3 separate regions of the Homo sapiens genome follow, and all the other regions are linked to region 1. The links are contacts of gene promoters, found by promoter capture Hi-C in blood cells and fetal thymus (Javierre and others, 2016). All regions are on one chromosome and are shown on one strand. The core of a region is centred on a gene start or on the middle of the fragment in contact, and the rest is flanking DNA. Distances in the headings are between cores, read along the strand shown. Region 1 holds the start of NCR2 (natural cytotoxicity triggering receptor 2). Region 2 overlaps APOBEC2 (apolipoprotein B mRNA editing enzyme catalytic subunit 2). Region 3 overlaps NFYA (nuclear transcription factor Y subunit alpha).

The links. Contacts are between HindIII fragments. The CHiCAGO score rates a contact against its expected background, and 5 or more counts as called.
Region 2: a fragment that was not itself captured here is called in contact with the fragment with the promoter of NCR2 in region 1 in 1 of 17 cell types (neutrophils); the score reaches 9.1 in neutrophils.
Region 3: a fragment that was not itself captured here is called in contact with the fragment with the promoter of NCR2 in region 1 in 4 of 17 cell types (monocytes, naive CD4 T cells, megakaryocytes and 1 more); the score reaches 6.1 in monocytes.

Annotation. Positions count from the first base shown.
Region 1 is chr6:41,333,984-41,337,164 of GRCh38, reverse strand. It overlaps NCR2 (natural cytotoxicity triggering receptor 2), which reads right to left and starts at 1,557. Exons shown (of 5, transcript NM_004828.4): 1 at 1,237-1,557; 2 at 737-1,078. The coding sequence starts at 1,288. RefSeq lists an enhancer at 2,810-2,939. The HindIII fragment of the contact is 13,900 bases long and covers 1-3,181 here.
Region 2 is chr6:41,058,784-41,061,964 of GRCh38, reverse strand. It overlaps APOBEC2 (apolipoprotein B mRNA editing enzyme catalytic subunit 2), which reads right to left. Exons shown (of 3, transcript NM_006789.4): 2 at 73-637. The coding sequence ends at 94. Among named protein-coding and RNA genes, the nearest start is that of APOBEC2, 7.2 kb to the right of the region's middle. The HindIII fragment of the contact is 2,270 bases long and covers 467-2,736 here.
Region 3 is chr6:41,075,424-41,078,604 of GRCh38, reverse strand. The region is part of intron 1 of NFYA (nuclear transcription factor Y subunit alpha); the gene reads right to left. It also overlaps a transcript of OARD1 not described here. Among named protein-coding and RNA genes, the nearest start is that of NFYA, 4.0 kb to the right of the region's middle. The HindIII fragment of the contact is 3,130 bases long and covers 1-3,057 here.

The sequences.
Region 1 (3,181 bases), core at 308-2,807:
TGTGAATTGCAGATTTTTTTTTAGAAGGTCCTCTTCCACAGGAACTGTGGGTAGCTCTGCTCTGAGCAGGAGTTTGGCACACTTTCTGTAAAGGGTCAGGGATGAGCCATGTGGTCTCTGTCACAGCTGCTCAATTTTGCTGTCACAGCATGAAAAGGGCCACAGACAATAGGTAATTGAGTGGGCATGGCTGTGTTCCAAAAAATAACTCCACTTATAGGCACTGAAATTTGAATTTCCTGTATGTCACAAAATATTGTTTTTCTTTTGATTTTTTTTCACTCATTCTTAGTTTTTTTCACTCATTCTTAGTCCCCGATCTGGACTATGAGGGATACCCATAGTATCTTGGTATCTAGACTACCCAGATACCACTGGCTCTACATGGTGGGGGCAGCCAGTGGATGCACCTTTCCTGGGCACCTACTATGTACCAAAGATGCCGGGTGGTCCTGCCCTCCTGTAGCAGGGTCATATAGGCTGACTGGTCAGCATGCTCACCGGGTCTGTTTCAGCATCTCTCAGGAGGCCCAGGCTGCAGGCTTGGGAGTCATGCAGACTGTGAGATGGCTGCTCTTGTGCACATATGAGTTCCCCCTGCACCTGTTCCCAACAGCCTTCCCAGGAGACTGGGGCGTGGGCATGGGTGGCTTCCACGATTGGGAAACCAGGGGTGATGGAGGCACCAAAAGGGGGTGAGGGGCACCCCTCTGAGGACCCTAGGGAAAGAGCTCACCTGGAGATACCACCAGATAGAATCTGACGGACTTAGAGACAGAGTTGTCAGAAGGGCGGTAGATTCTACACCAGTAATGTCCTGAGTCTTCCTCTCTCAGATCAGTCATGGTGACAGTGAAGAAGCCAGCATCAGGGTCGTCCCAGATTGTGAATCGAGAGGTCCAAGCCATCGTCCTGGGCTTGGAGCTGGTGACTAACCTGATGCACACAAGTGCTGAAGCCTCCTTACACCAGCCTTTCTTCTCGTAGAGACTGCCCGTGGGCGGGTACTGGCATCTCACGGTTAGCGTCTGCCCTGCCACACTTTGAAGTACCTGAGCCTTGGATTGTGCCTGAGAGCCTGGAGAATGATGAAGTAACGCATAGGTCAAGGCCACGCGCACAACCTGCCTCACAGCAGGCCTCTGGCCACAGAGCCACCTGCTCCCTGACCCTGCTGTCCTGACAGTCCCCACCACACCCATCTCCTCTGCTCCCTGGGCTCCTCCTCCCCCTCACCTGGGAACAGCAGCAGCAGCAGTAGCAGTGGGTGTAGGGCTCGCCAGGCCATGTGGTCCTTTTCCTGTGCGCTCATGGGAGGGGACACCTGGAGAAGACTGGGGAGAGGGAATTGGGAGCTGGGCCTGATTCTGCTGCTCTTCCAGCACGTCTGATAGAAAAATGAGACAGGCTGAGGCCTGGGTTGGGGAGATGGGAGACTGCAAAGGGCAGATTCTGTGGGCACAGGGAAGTGGGGATCTCCAGCTGTAGGTGAGTCTGGGTCTGGTGGGCTCGGCGCTGTCTGGCACACAGCTTCCCAGGCCTCTGTAGAAGATGCCTGCTCTCCCCTGTGCCCAGCTGCCCCTCCCCACCATGACCTACCCCTGAGGGAGGAGCTGAAAAGGCCAGGAGGAAACTGTGGGCGAGTTATGGACTGCTTCCCCCTTGCTCCCTCTGTGTGCTGCCTCTCTTCTTTGCAGGGCCCTAGCTTTGCCGCCCTTTCCAGGGAAAGGCAGGCTGAGGGTGGATGACAAACTCAGGGGCACTTGGAACCCTGATCACAAGCCCCAAGCCTCACTGGTCACAGGATGGCCAGGGACGTCATGCCCAGGCCTCCATGGTGGGTCAGTGATGTGCTTCCACTCTGGGAGTTTCGTGGGTGCGGGAAAGGAGAGGGGAGAGGAGGTGGAGATTCAAAACCAGCAAGGGAGGCTAGGGAGGGTCCCTGGCAAAGGTCGGGGAGGGGAGGGTGGGAAGAGCACACGGAGCATGGGATGCATCAGTGGGGTGGGGTAGAGGGAGCCCAGGAACCAGGACCTGGCCTCATCTCTGCATCCTGGACCTCTGCCACTTAAGGACCCTGGAGAAATATTGTTTAATTAAAACATAAACAGATGAAAGACTCTAGCATATTTTTCTTTAGTTAATGTCAGCACTTTGAAGATTCAGTTTTAAAATACGATGCAATTTACAAAGAGAACGAGCTAATATATCTTAGGACTGGTAGAGACACTGTGTGTAATTGCAGTTGCACCACTGGGGGCTCTGCTGGACTGGCGATCTGCTGCCGGGAGCTCTGTGAACAGAGGTAATAACTGAGACGGGAATTGGAACTTGTCAAGTGGACTCGATTCCAAGTCCACTGCTTTGCCTGCCCCTGGACTCCTGCTCTCCACTCCATCTCAGTACACTGCCCTTCTCCTTACAGTAGGAGTATGCAGAGACTGAGAATGGGAAAGGCAGAGGGGTATGCAAAAGGAGGACACAGTAGGGCTATCAGATGTTGGCGCCCAAGGGCCCAAGGTGGGAAAGCAGGCTGGAGCTCCAGAGCTAGAAGACAGCTCAGGGAGCGATGCCCGCCACTCACTCACACAAGCATTATTTACAAAGCATTCTCATGCACACTTTCTCAAGACCCTCAGCAGGTTCGCGAGGGAGACATTACTTCTCTTTTTCACAGATGTGAGAACTGAGGCCCAGATATGGTCAGCCACCTGCTCAGAGTCACACAGGACCAGAACAGGCCTCCTGACTTCGGTCTGGAGCCTTCCGGCTGGTCTGGTTGAAATGCGACCCACAGACATGACAGGAAACCAGGGGTGAGAAAGAGGCTCCCACTGAATTGCACACACAGGCGGAGGTGAGCTTTTAGGGGGTTTCCTCGCCGACAGTGGGGCCCAGCTTCTCCCTGAACATAATTACATACCAAATCAGGGTGGGGGCATCCTCCCGAGGGGGAGGAAGGCGGCCCTGTCCTCAGATGGCACCGAGGCACGTCACCGTGTGTGTGTGTGTGTGTGTGTGTGTGTGTGTGTGTGTGTCAGCAACTGTGTTCCCATGCTGACTTTCCCCTTCTCTGACCCCTGCTGACTCTAAGTGACAGCTCCTTCTTGTAGCTTACAAGAGCACCCCTTGCTATGTGCCACTAGCTGTGTGTCTCTTCAGCCTGCAGCCAGCTCTGTAT
Region 2 (3,181 bases), core at 352-2,851, 280 kb after region 1:
CTACCTGACCTCACACCTTCTACTGGAGTTAACATAATAAAGTGTTGGTGCCATGGCACCAGGAAAACTCACGTGAGGCAAAGCCCAGTTGCCCTACTTCAGGATGTCTGCCAACTTCTCCTCGTAGTATAGGAAGTTCTCCTGAATGTCCTCCCAGGGCTGAAAGGCCTTGGATTCACCCTCTTCTTGCTCCACAAAATTCTGCCAGACATATTCGAAGTCCTGGGGCTTCATGATGCGCAGTTTACAGCCAGCCTCCTTCAGCTTCTTCAGAGCAGCCTGGATCTCCGGCTCCTCCCACATGAAGAGTCGACCCACCAGAATGAGCAGACGCAGGTTCTTGGTCTTGCTAAGGGTTTTGATAATGCGGTCAGCACACGCTGCACAGGGGCTGGAGGACACATACCAGGTGACATTGTACCGCAGGGCTGGGTCGAAGGCTGGCAGGATGGTGTTGAAGAAAGCTTCCTCTGCATGGGCAGCCGCATGCTCATCCTCTAGGTATCCCCGAGATGCCTGCACTTGGCCCCCCTTGCCCTGTGCTTCAACCACATAGCAGAGGAAGGTCTTGTTCCTCCCGGAACTGTACTCCACATTCCGGAACTGGAATTTAAAGAAGTTGGCAGGCAGCCGTTCTCTGTAGGTCAAGGAGACAAAAGGACAGGAAAGAATGATAAGTTCTTGTTTCTAGAACCAGCCTAGAGTAGGTAGCTCTTCCAGGTCAGTACTTCAGAAATGCATTCACTCTTACTATAAATAGGTCTTGTCTGTGGTAACATCAGTGACAAAAAAAAAAAAAAAAAAAAAAGCATTAAAAAATCCAGAAGGGTTTATCTGAAGGAGAGGAGAATTTGGACTGAGGTGTGCATTTTGGTCACCCTACTAGGACATTGTCTCCACCATCACTCTTCCAGCACAACATACCCCTACATTTCTAAATCACTGAATCTTTAACCTGCCTATACCTTAGAATCACCTAGAAGACTGAGAATGTCAGTGCCTGGGCCTCATGCCAAACCAATTAAATCAGAACATGTGGAGAGGTGGTCCAAGCATCAGTATTTTTAAAAAGCTCTCTGGATGATTCCAATAAGTGGCCAGGTAAGTAGCAAGCATATAAAATTTCTCATGACAGAGCAAAACAAAGATTTTGCAGAGCATTTTATGCTTTTTTCTCTTCCTTGTAACTCATGTAAATTGCATCTTGGCATGAAATGGCCTAAAACTTGCAATAACATGCTCTCCTTCTCAAGTGACTACTTCTCAAGTCTGTTTACTTTCAGGTAAAGGGATTGTCACATGCTAAGTGTCCAAGAATTTTTATCTGTGAGGACAGACTACTCAAGGGTATCTTGGGATAGTTAAGCCTGTATTTAGTATTGAGTCACCTCCAAATCTTAAAGGACTTGGTCTCTGCCCTCCAGATGCTTATAATTTAGCAGCTAGATTGCAGCTGGACAGAGAAGATGTAAATAAAACAGCTGAGAACATTATAAGACTGCTAAAATTGGATAGGTACAGTAAAGGAAGTATTATGAAGGTTCTCGAAAGTTTGGCCTTGATTCGGGAGGCAGTAGAGAATTGTTACAGGTTCTTGAGAAGGAAAACAATAAAAATGATGTCCATGCAAGATTACAGTCTTGGCAATAGGCAGATAGTGTGAAGCTGAGGAAAAGCCTCAAATTGAACAAGTCCAGTAGGTATCTTAGGACACTAAACTTGGTGATGAATTGTGTGGGTGCCTTTGAGGAGGAGATGGATGGTTAGGAAATGAAAACAGCAGGAAAAGTCCAGGAATTTTGAAAATTTTGGTAATAACAAGGAGAAGAAAAAAGAGAAGGGCCAGAGAAGACATCAGAGTTGAAGATTGTTTTTACTTTTATGTGTATGTGTGTGTTTTTCTAAAATAGGCAAGATTTGTTCAAGTTTGAAGTCCAAAGAAAATGAATTTTTAATAGGAGAGATGAAAAATGTCAAGAGAGGAGGAGATGAGTACCAGCTAGAAAGATTCAATGTTTTCCTTTTTAAAAATGTAATCTCTCTGCCTGCCCCAAGAGATACCTATGGCACCATTAATTCTACTATTGCCTGTCTCCACCTCTTCTCTTTCCCCAAAGAAGTCAACAGACTCCCTGGGCTGCAGGGGAATCCCTGGTATCCCAGGGCCTTGGCTGCCTAGGGATGAGCAGCAGATGCCAAAGATATGAGTAAACTTGACTTATTTCCCTGCAGGATTCCCTCACCCCCACCCATCACCAAAATGTATCCACCCAAGTTTCCATGTCCCGTGCTGTCAGGTTCATTTTCCACTGTGGAGATGGATGTGTTTGAGGACCCAGCCCCAGGATTCCATCAGGTACTATACTTAGCTCTCTAAGCCCCTGTGTCCCTAGTTGGAGGTGTTTATTGTTTACTTAACATTTTAGGAGAATGGATCGCCTGATGTTTCCCTGCTCCTCTTCTCAATCCCTGTCAGGCGTTCACTTATAGTGAGTGCTCCCCAAAGGTACTCACCCCACCAGACCACTCCTCAACTTTACCAGTTGCCAAATGGTCCCTTCACTTCCTGGAGTGGCTTTTTGCTTTTGAGAAGCTCAGAGCTTACCGTTCCTGCCCAAACTTGCTCTTCAAGACCTTTTGCCCCACTCCCCAAGTCTAATCCAGGGCCACCTATATGATGGATTATCAGGTGGAACCCTGGCAAGTATTCATGGCTACTCAAATAGCTTGGAAGCTTAAACAGTAGCTGCTGTGTGGTCCCTCTTTTCCTTCTGGAGCTCCCTATAGCTCAGCTGAAAGTATGAATTTAGGCCAGTGTGAATTTGGCCCAGCATGCAATTGCAAATTGGCTTTGATGGTTGTGAGGTGACTGTTTCTTTCTGCCCTTCTTAAGCTCTGACATTTTCCCCTCCTCCTCTTCCCTAGGCAAGAGGAGAAGACCCAAAGAAACCTGAAACCCAAGGGAGAGGAAGAAAGGTCATCTCTCTATAAATACGGGTTTCCAACCCCTCTGGCCAGCAGCCCTAGAATCTACTCTGTCCCTCAGCAGGGCCTTCTGGACTAGATGCCTCAGGAAAAGAAGTGCTTTCAAGGAGCAAAGGAAAGGCAGGGAAGGTTTGGTTCCTAGTCGTTCCCTTGGGCTTGCTCAGAGACTAAACTTGCTTGATTTCTGAATGGGTTT
Region 3 (3,181 bases), core at 243-2,742, 260 kb after region 1:
TTACCCTTCTCATAGACTTTAAGAGTTGAAGATCCACTTTTAAAAATAAGGATACAATTAGATAAACTGAATGATATCTGAGAACCTTTAATAAAGACTTCATTAAAAAATTAAAATGATATAAGTTAGCAATCGGCAATTCATCTTGGAAATATGGGAGGGAGGACAGATATATAAACAAAAATGTAGATAGGTCTTTCTCTCTGATTTTTCACTAGGCCCTCATAAATTCCAACATCTGAATAATAAAATGACGTGACCTAACTGAGCTGCTCATTATCGTGGCAAAGTACAGTACCACTCTCCATAAATCCACACATGCTGGTGGAATTAATCATTTGCAAGGTGTCTCAATACAGTGTGAAAGAAGAAACCAAAATATGTGCAACTATATGTCCAAGTACTTAGAAAGAAGTGTATTGATATCTAAAATTTACTTTGAAATGCATCAAAAAATGGATGAATGGGTGGAGAAATATCTGGTAAGGCAATTATAGTAAGATGTTAATAGACCCTAACTGGCAGGTATACAGGTGTTTATTTTCAAATTCCTTTGATTTCACTGCACACTTGAAAATTCTTATTTCTAGAATAAGAATTTTGAGAAATTCTTATTTCCCAAATGAATGTTGGAATGTTAGGAAAAATATAACAAAATTTAATCAAAATAAAAATTAATCAACCCCATTACTCATAACCAAAATGGATACAACATAAGAATCTATGAGCCATAAATAACAGGCTATGTCATCACAGCAAGAGGACTTGTGGCCATATGGTTCTCCAAAGCACTGCCCTTGATCTAATGGAATGCTCGCTAGGTAAATTTCTAGCTATAATTTGGATTTACATATAGATTGGCCAACAGGGAGCAAATATAATCAGCAACATGACAAACCGGTTTTCTGATTTTTACACCAGTCTCTTTGGAATTGGTTGACTAAGTCTGCTCCTCAGAGATTCTGGGTATAGAATAGAAAATCAGGTTTTCAGCCAGACTGTGAGTCTGTTAGGGGCACTAACAGGCTTCCCTAAATTCTATCTTGTCTCTAATACACAATACATTTATGGCTATAAACTAATAAAATTAAGGTTATGATGTAAACGAATATATATGATTCCATTTATATAAAATCTCCAAAAGACATCAGTAATCTAGAGACAGAAAATGGATCAGTGGTTCCTTGGGAGTGGAGAATACAGGGAGACAGGAAAGAGGGAGGTTGACTGGCATGGAGCCTTAGGAACATTGTAGGGTGATGAAAATGTTTTATATCTTCATTGTGGTAGCAGTTGCACAGGTGTACAAATTTGTCAAAACTCATCAAAATACACATTTAAAATTATTATACTTTGTTTCTAAAGTATCTCTCAATAAATTGATTTTAAAAAATAAGGATCATGAAAGGAATGTCTTTTAGGTTTCAACGCCTCCCCAACTCCAAATTTCCTTCTTATATGAGATTTTTTCCTTGACTAATATCCAGAAGTTTACATCTTTACAAGACTAAATATAACTTGAAGCACATAATGACTAATATATGTAACGTACAGATTTTCTTCTTAACTAGTTTATTCTGGTAATACAAATGAACCAATTTAGCAATATTTAAATTTATACTTTGAAGAGTATCAAGATTTGAAGAGCAGCTTCAAATCTAGCAGCAATTCTCTCTCACATTAATGACAGAGTGATTTAGCCTGTATCATGATATTGATACTGTTAATGGTTAATGCTATAAGCAACTGGCTTCAGTAAAGTCATATGTTCCTACTACTGTGAGCTTCAGTTAGCAAGACTGCAATACAATTCGATAGTCTTTCCCAAAGTGCCTCTTTGCCCAAGATTATGACAAACTAAGCCAGATTTAGTCTGTCTAGCTCTTGCTCTTAACACAAAGTTTTGAATGGTTTTTCCTCAAAGAGAGAGAAACAAATAATAAGTGTTTATTCTGGCTAGCATGAAAATTCTCTTCCTAGTGCATTCTCTTCTCAGTGCAATTCTCTTTGCCCCACTATTCCAAGGTGCAAAAGCTGAGACTTAGCCAACCACTTACTAGGAACCCATTCTATGTGGACCTACACAAACTCCAAAGCTAAAACCTCTTCAGAAACTCAACTAGTGTAAGCATATGAAAAGCCATAGGATTATCACAGTTGATAATCACTACCAGGCAAAGCCTAGAACAGTAGCTTTTTAACTTTTTTGACCACAACCCTTAGTAAGAAACACATTTCATTATCACAACTCAGTGCACACATGTATAAAGCATGTAACTGAAATGAAAGTTTCATGAAACAGCATTTACCTTTATACAACACAAGATGCACTTTGGTATTTTCTATTCTTTTTTTTCTTTTAAGAGAGGGGGTCTCCCTATGCTACCCAGGCTGGTCTCAAACTCCTGAGCTCAAAGGATTCTCCCACTTCGGCTTCCCAAAGTGCTGGGATTACAGTCGTGAGCCATCATCATGCCTGGCAGATATTTTCTATTCTATTATTTAAAAATTCCCAGCATTGGCTCACTCAATTTCTTTCACAACTCAACAAGTGGGTCCTGATAGACGCTTGATGAAAGACTAGACTACAACAAAGGGCTGTCCAGCTTCCCCATCATCCTACAGATTTCTGGATTGGAGCTTTCTAATGCACTTCTCTCCACTAATTATGTACCATGTGCCAGACACTGTTCTGAAGGTTTTAAAAATAAAAAGAAATCTCTGACGAAGATTCAAACTTCAAAGAGTCTTTAAGTTTAGTAATGGACTAAAAACCTATACTGGAATCCTAAGAGATAAAGTGATATGGGAATTTGGAGGACAGAGATTTGTTCCAGCTGGGGATAAATCAACAAGGCTTAAAAAAAAAAAGGTACTACTTGAACTTTTTTTTTCTTTGCTATCAGAGGCCTGCAGGATGAACTGGTCTTAAGTGTGAGAAAGATTTAGCTATGTGATGATGTGGAGGAAGGTGAAGTACTACAAATCAAGAGAGCATAAAAACAAGAACAGAAATATTTCAGCATGTGAACAGTGGACTAAACAGGAAAAAAAGCTTGGGGCCACACTACTTTCTCTCAAAATGTCAGACAAAGAAATTCTTCTGCAGACTGGTGGAAGCTTGTAAGGTATTTAGCAAAAAAGTTACCAGATTATAATGCCTTTTAGAAAGATGCCAAGC